Regions from separate parts of the Homo sapiens genome. Here region 2 is linked to region 1. Evidence: promoter capture Hi-C in human tissues and cell types (Jung and others, 2019). All regions are on one chromosome and are shown on one strand. Each heading gives the region's core, a stretch centred on a gene start or on the middle of the fragment in contact. The rest is flanking DNA. Distances are from core to core; before and after follow the strand shown.

Region 1 (3,603 bases), core at 873-3,372:
AACCCCGTCTCTACTAAAAATACAAAAAATTAGCTAGGCATAGTGATGGGCGCTTGTAGTCCCAGCTTCTCAGGAGGCTGAGCCAGGAGAATGGCGTGAACCCCGGAGGCAGAGCTTGCAGTGAGCCGAGACTGCGCCACTGCACTCCAGCCTGGGCAACAGCGCGAGACTCCGTCTCAAAAAAAAAAAAGAAAGAAAGAAAGAAAGGAGCAGAGGCTCCACTTCCGTTGCAATTGAAAAGGCAAGGGAAAAAAGGTGCAACAGATGGTTATACGTTGAGGTTAAATTCATAGGTTTGATGGGCAAGAAATGGAGAAAGTTCACATCTGATGGATCCTCTTTTTCTCCCCAGGGAAGCTTAAAGTCATTTGTTGAGCTTGAAGCGAAAGGTTTGAAAAGGGTAAAGAAGATTTAAACAATCACTGTGGAGAATGGCAGAGAACCAAGGAGGAAAATACAGAAGGCAGAACTGAAGAGTATTTACCGTCCAAGAACTGATTACAATTCCTGAAATACATCCTACTGAAACATATATCCAATGTTCCACTGTTCACCTGGGGAAGTCCTGTCTACAGTTTAAAACGTCTCCACCTAGAAAGCCTTTTCTGACATTTCCTAACCAGTTTCCAACCCCCAGTTATCATTCTCCTCTGTATTAATGCTCTACTTTATATGCAATCCTACTGCTATCTTACATCACTATATTACAGCACCTACCTTTATAGTCTACAAGATTATTTCCTCTACTAGATGGTGAACTACTTGAGGGCAAAAATTGCACGTGTATCAGGAGCAACTGCAAATATATCAGGGTCTCTGCCTTGTATCTAAAGTTTAAATTCAGTTTAGCCAAGTTTTAGACAGAGACCCGGTCCTAGAGTTTCCAACATGAAATAGTTCAGAAAACATCATTGCTTTTGACAAAAGTACATAAATTATCATGAAAAGGCACGTAATTCAGGATGACAATAAAATATTTAACAGTCAGAGAAAATAAACAATAATTTGGAACTTTATTTCATTTATTACCCACTTCGGTCTTCAAATGTGTGCATGTGCTTCTAACTGCGATGATGAATTTAAAAAACATTCTGCACCTACTGTATGCAAGATACTGCTATTCACACTGTGGGATATTAAAAAAAGTTTGCAATACAGAAGAGATTAAAACAAGTATACAAATGATTTTAGTACAAGGTAGAATGCGATGGCCACTAGAGAAAAAATTAAGAACAGGTGAGAAGGGCTTTATTTTTATGCTTATAAATGTGAACTTTATTCTGAAGGATAAGAGATTCGGGACATGGTAACTGGATTGACACAACTGAATATGCTTTTCAAGTATATTATATCTAACTTTTCTTATTTTGGGCAACTTCTCTCCAAACTGACTAGCAATAAAATCTGACTGCTAGATTCTGTACAAATGGTTAATCCCAACCTGAACAAATGTCTCAAACCCTCCCCCACGTGTCACTGTAGATAACTGCCTCATAAAGGAGGAAAAAAAAAACCAGCCTGTAAGAGGGGTCACCTGTACAGTCCATTTGTTAAAGGAGTAAGCGTTTCCAGCTCTACTTTAAAACAAGGCCCTATTTCATTATGCGTCTGCCGTCTGTTCTAGAGCTTACACTTTTGAAGAGCTCGAACGCTACACCCCTTCGTCAAGAACTGCGGCAGCAGCCGGTGGCTGCCAACGCGGTCCACAGGGTTTGGGCTCCCGAAACTTCAGGGAAGCTGGAGGCATGGGGGGGGGGGGGGTCGAGTTGAAATGAGGAACACACAGAAACCAAGTGTCCCCAAGACTCCAGAAAAGAGGGAGCCAGTCCCAGAGTAAATAGGTTGGCTAGAACAGTACCCAAGCCAGGGGGCCGGGCGGAGGGGAGTGGTCACGTCCAGACTGGAAAACTTTCTGCAAAGCAACGGGTTGGGTCCACCTCGCTGTCCAGGTGCGGAGCAGCGCAGACCCCCAACCCCACGACCTGGTCAGACCCCGTCTCCTTACCGTCCTGCAGAAGTTCCCGGACTGTAGCTGCAGCCGCTCCAGAGCCTCGAGCTCCGAGGCCAGCTACAGCGACGCTGCCGCCGCCACCTTCCATGTTGGCAGGTGCCGGGTTGATGTCGTCAGCAGCAGAACGGCTCCGCCCAGGTGGTGACGCAGAATCCCGGCGCCGCCCGCCCACCCAGCCCATGGCTCCAGGCCCACCTGGCGAACTGACTCTCAGCCCGCGCCTGGGCTAAGCCTGGCTAGGAGCCGCGCAGGTACTCGAGCAGTGGGCGCCCAGGGTCCGAGTGCTCTGCGCCCAGCGCACCGAGGGAGCCAAGGCCGTCGGGCCGGCGCTTTCAGCTGTCTCTCGCAGCAGCTCAGGGCCGCGCCCCCTGGGCTGGCGTCGTGCCCTAGCCAAGGAGAAGGTGGGCACCGGAACGTGGCCGCAGCGCTTATCTGTGAAGCAAGTATTAAACCTCAGAACAGGGGCCGCGCGGCGTAAGGCAGGAGAGCAGAGCGGAGGTTTCAGGGAGCTTCGTTTGCCCTCCACACTCACAAGAGTCACGCGTTAGTTGCTACACAGCTTTATCTGTTCCACGCCTTGATTGGCACTCCTGGGGTAATAAAAGCCCGCAGGAAATGCTTGGGAAGAAAAGTTGCTGGGGATGAACAGTGAAGAGAATTAGGGAGAGTCGATGAAGAAGGAAGTCTGAACCATAAAAGGACCAATAAAACTCACTGTCTCTACCCTCCTTCCTTCCCATGAGACCTTTGACCTTTTGCCTTTTCTACTTCTTCCTCAGTTTCAGTCACGTGCCAGACTTTTTCTTAATTACAAACTGATAGATGGTCCACATCTCAACTAACAGTATTGACGCTGTAAGAGCATCAGGTTGGTTCCCATTGTATCTTCTTTACTAATACGTTCGCGTTTTTGACCTAGATTTCTTTCTTCTAAGATAAATACTGATAAATTAACAGGGTCAGGCAACCACAAGTATGCAAGACAGTCTTAAGCTTCTTCGCAAAAAGAAGCTGGAAGATGACTTTTTCATTTTGTACAGTAGGTATGTATCCAGGAAACCAATTTTATCCAGTTCCAGAGCTACGTGGTTTTCTACATTCTGTTTCAAAAAGGTGCTATTACTTATCCTGTGCTTATCGCTGTTCTAAGTATTTTATAACTCAATGCATTTCATACTCATAACACCTCAGGTAAGCAAGTCTTATGCTACACTGCATTATGCTCTCTTTGTCTCAGAGGATTTTCCCTAGTATGTAAGATCTTAGTCATGATGGGAATAGGGGTGATTCATTCATTACTTGTGAATTAGGAATTGTTTTTCCTTCCTTGGCTTTATTCCCCCCAGTGGAAGATTTTAGAAGAGTGAGTAATATTCATTCATACAGCGAAAGTTTTGACCCCTCTACTCTGCATGCTCTCATGAGTTTACAAACATAAGACTCAATCCATATTCTAAAAGGAGTTAATAGGTAAGGTAGGAACCCATTTAAACAAACAATTGTACCAGGTGCTTTGGAATCTTTGGATTTACTTATTCCAGTAATTCCAAGCTTAGCTGCACATTGAAATCACCTGAAGAGCTTTAATAAAA
Region 2 (3,426 bases), core at 402-2,901, 1.1 Mb before region 1:
AGATTCTCAATAAATTTTAAGGCCCTACATAATAATATGATAGCTTATAGTGACTGAATAACAGCCACAATAAAAATAACAAAATCTTTTTCTCTCATTATTAGCTTTTGCTAAGTCAAATAGCTTATTAGAAGTGATCACACTCAGTTTTGTGCTCCACGCATGAAGTAGCATCCCAGAAAAAAACTGCTGTCCTATTCCACACTACACCTTAAACCCTAGCTGGATGTGTTGAACAAGTATGTTTTTGACTGCAAGAGACTGAAAAACAGAGGGAAGGAGGGAGGGAGGGAGAAGACAGAGGAAACTCAGTAATTATGTTAGTGTCTCTCTCTCTCTCTCTCTCTCTCTCTCTCTCTCTCTCTCCCTCTCTCTCTCTCATGAGACGGGGTGGAGAGTTTGGGGCAAATGATGTTGGTCTGAAAACTATGGAGAAAGTTTATCTCAGGCAGAAATGGGAAGAAGTTTGAGGCGTGATAGAAGAGTCTGCTGGGAAAAATGACTTGAAGTAGCCATGTGCTAGACACAAGGATGCACTGCCCAGCTCCCACATCAGTGAAGCCCCATTGCCCCAGCTCCTGAGAATGTCATGGGCCAATAGCCTTCAACTGTCAGCCCCTTTAGGGAGGTTTTTTTATACCCCAGTGGAACATGGAATGCCAGTGAGACAGAACCATTCACTCCCCTGGAAAGGGGGCTGAAGCTAGGGAGCCCAATGGTCTAGTTCAGCAGATCCCACGCCCATGGAGCCCAGCAAGCTAAGATCCACTGGCTTGAAATTCTCGCTGCCAGCCCAGCAGTCTGAAGTCAACCTGGGATGCTTGAGCTTGGCACAGGGAGGGGCATCTGCCATTACTGACGCTAGAGTAGGTGATTTTACCCTCACAGTGTAAACAAAGCCACCAGGAAGTTCGAACTGGGCAGAGCCCAGCGCAGCTTGGCAAAGCTGCTGTAGCCAGACTGCCTCTCAAGTTTCCTCCTCTCTGGGCAGGGCAACCCTGAAAGAAAGGCAGCAGTCCCTGTCAGGCGCTTATAGATCAAACTTCCATCTCCCTGGGACAGAGCACCTGGGGGAAGGGGTGGCTGTGGGTGCAGCTTCAGCAGACCTAAATGTTCCTGCCTGCTGGCTCTGAAGAGAGCAGCCAATCTTTCAGCACAGCATTCAAGCTCTTATCAGAGCCTCCCCAAGTGGCTCTGATCACACTGCCTCCCCAAGTGGGTCCCTGACCCCCGTGCATCCTGATAGGCAGATACCTCTCAGCAGGGGTTGACAGACACCTCATACAGGAGATCTCTGGCTGGCATTTGCTGGGTGCCCCTCTGGGACGAAGCTTCCAGAGGAAGGAAAAGGAAGCAATCTTTGCTGTTCTGCAGCCTCCGCTGGTGATACCCAGGCAAACAGGGTCTGGAGTGGACCACCAGCAAACTCCAGCAGACCTGCAGCAGAGAGGCCTTACTGTTAGAAGGAAAACTAACCAACAGAAAGGAATAGCATCAACATCAACAAAAAGGATGTCCACACAAAAACCCCATCTGAAGGTCACCAACATCAAAGGTAGATAAATCAATGAAGATGAGGAAAAACTAGCACAAAAAGGCTGAAAATTCCAAAAACCAGAACACCTCTTCTCCTCCAAAGTGTCACAACTCCTCACCAGCACGGGAACAAAACTGGACAGAGAATGAGTTTGACAAATTGACAGAAGCAGGCTTCAGAAGGTGGGTAATAACAAACTCCTCTAAGCTAAAGCAGCTTGTTCTAACCCAATACAAGGAAGCTAAGAACCTTGAAAAAAGGTTAGACGAATTGCTAACTAGAATAACCAGTTTGGAGAAGGACATAAATGACCTGATGGAGCTGAAAAACACAGCACGAGAACGTTGTGAAGCATACACAAGTATCGATAGCCGAATCAATCAAGCAAAAGAAAGGACATCAGACACTGCAGATCAACTTAATGAAATAAAGTGTGAAGGCAAGGTTAGAGAAAAAAGAATGAAAAGGAACGAACAAAGCCTCCAAGAAATACGCGAATATGTGAAAAGACCAAACCTACATTTGATTGGTGTATGTGAAAGTGACGGGGACAATGGAACCAAGTTGGAAAACACTCTTCGGGATATTATCCAGGAGAACTTCCCCAACCTAGAAAGACAGGCCAACATTTAAATTCAGGAAATACAGAGAATACCACAAAGATACTCCTCAAAAAGAGCAACCCCAAGATACAGAATCATCAGATTCACCAAGGTTGAAATGAAGAAAAAATGTTAATGGCAGCCAGAGAGAAAGGTTGGGTTATCCACAAAGGGAAGCCCATAAGACTAACAACAAAGATCAAAAGAGACAAAGAAGGCCATTACATAATGGTAAAGAGACCAATGCAACAAGAAGAGCTAACTATCCCACCCAATATGTATATATATATGCACCCAATACAGGAGCAGCCAGATTCATAAAGCAAGTTCTGAGAGACCTACAAAGAGACTTAGACTCCCACAAAATAATAGTGGGAGACTTTAACACCCCACTGTCAATATTGGATAGATCAATGGGACGGAAAATTAACAAGAATATTCAGGACTTGAACTCAGCTCTGGACCAAGCGAACCTAATAGACATCTACAGAACTCTCCACCCCAAATCAACAGAATATACATGCTTCTCAGCACCACATCACACTTATTCTAAAATTGACCACATAATTGGAAGTAAAACACTCCTTAGCAAACGCAAAACAGCAGAAATCATAACAAACAGTCTCTCAAACCACAGTGCAATCAAATTAGAACTCAGGATTAAGAAATTCACTCAAAACCACACAACCACATGGAAACTGAACAACCTACTCCTGAATGACTGCTGGGTAAATAGTGAAATTAAGGCAGAAATGAACAAGTTCTTTGAAACCAATGAGACCCAAGACACAGCATACCAGAATCTCTGGGACACAGCTAAAGCAGTGTTTAGAGGGAAATTTATAGCACGAAATGCCCACAGGAGAAAGCAGGAAAGATCTAAAATCCACACCCTAACACCACAATTAAAAGAACTAGAGAAGCAAGAGCAAACAAATTCAAAACCTAGCAGACGACAATAAATAACTAAGATTAGAACAGAACTGACGGAGATAGAGACACACACACACACACAAAAATCCTTTAAGAAATCAATGAATCCAGGAGCTGGTTTTTAGAAAAGATTAATAAAATAGATAGACTGCTAGCCAGACTAATAAAGAAGAAAAGAGAGAAGAATCAAATAGACACAATAAAATATGATAAAGGGGATATCACCAATGATCACACAGAAATACAAACTACCATCAGAGAATACTATAAACACCTCTATGCAAATAAACTAAAAAATTTAGAAGAAATGGATAAATTCCTGGACACATACACCCTCCCAAGACTAAACCAGGA

What was found. Contacts are between HindIII fragments. The study calls those that stand out against the background at their distance.
Region 2: a fragment that was not itself captured here is called in contact with the fragment with the promoter of COG5 in region 1 in 1 of the 25 tissues and cell types used here (lymphoblastoid cells).

The regions. Positions count from the first base shown.
Region 1 is chr7:107,561,798-107,565,400 of GRCh38, forward strand. It overlaps COG5 (component of oligomeric golgi complex 5), which reads right to left and starts at 2,123. Exons shown (of 22, transcript NM_006348.5): 1 at 2,006-2,123. The coding sequence starts at 2,099. It overlaps DUS4L-BCAP29 (DUS4L-BCAP29 readthrough), which reads left to right and starts at 2,174. Exons shown (of 13, transcript NR_163941.2): 1 at 2,174-2,412; 2 at 2,791-2,879. It overlaps DUS4L (dihydrouridine synthase 4 like), which reads left to right and starts at 2,174. Exons shown (of 8, transcript NM_181581.3): 1 at 2,174-2,412; 2 at 2,791-2,879. RefSeq lists silencers at 2,002-2,212, 2,251-2,350 and enhancers at 2,051-2,170, 2,701-3,603. The HindIII fragment of the contact is 5,630 bases long and covers 1-3,283 here.
Region 2 is chr7:106,492,351-106,495,776 of GRCh38, forward strand. No RefSeq gene overlaps it. Among named protein-coding and RNA genes, the nearest start is that of CTB-30L5.1, 100 kb to the right of the region's middle. The HindIII fragment of the contact is 3,547 bases long and covers 1-3,425 here.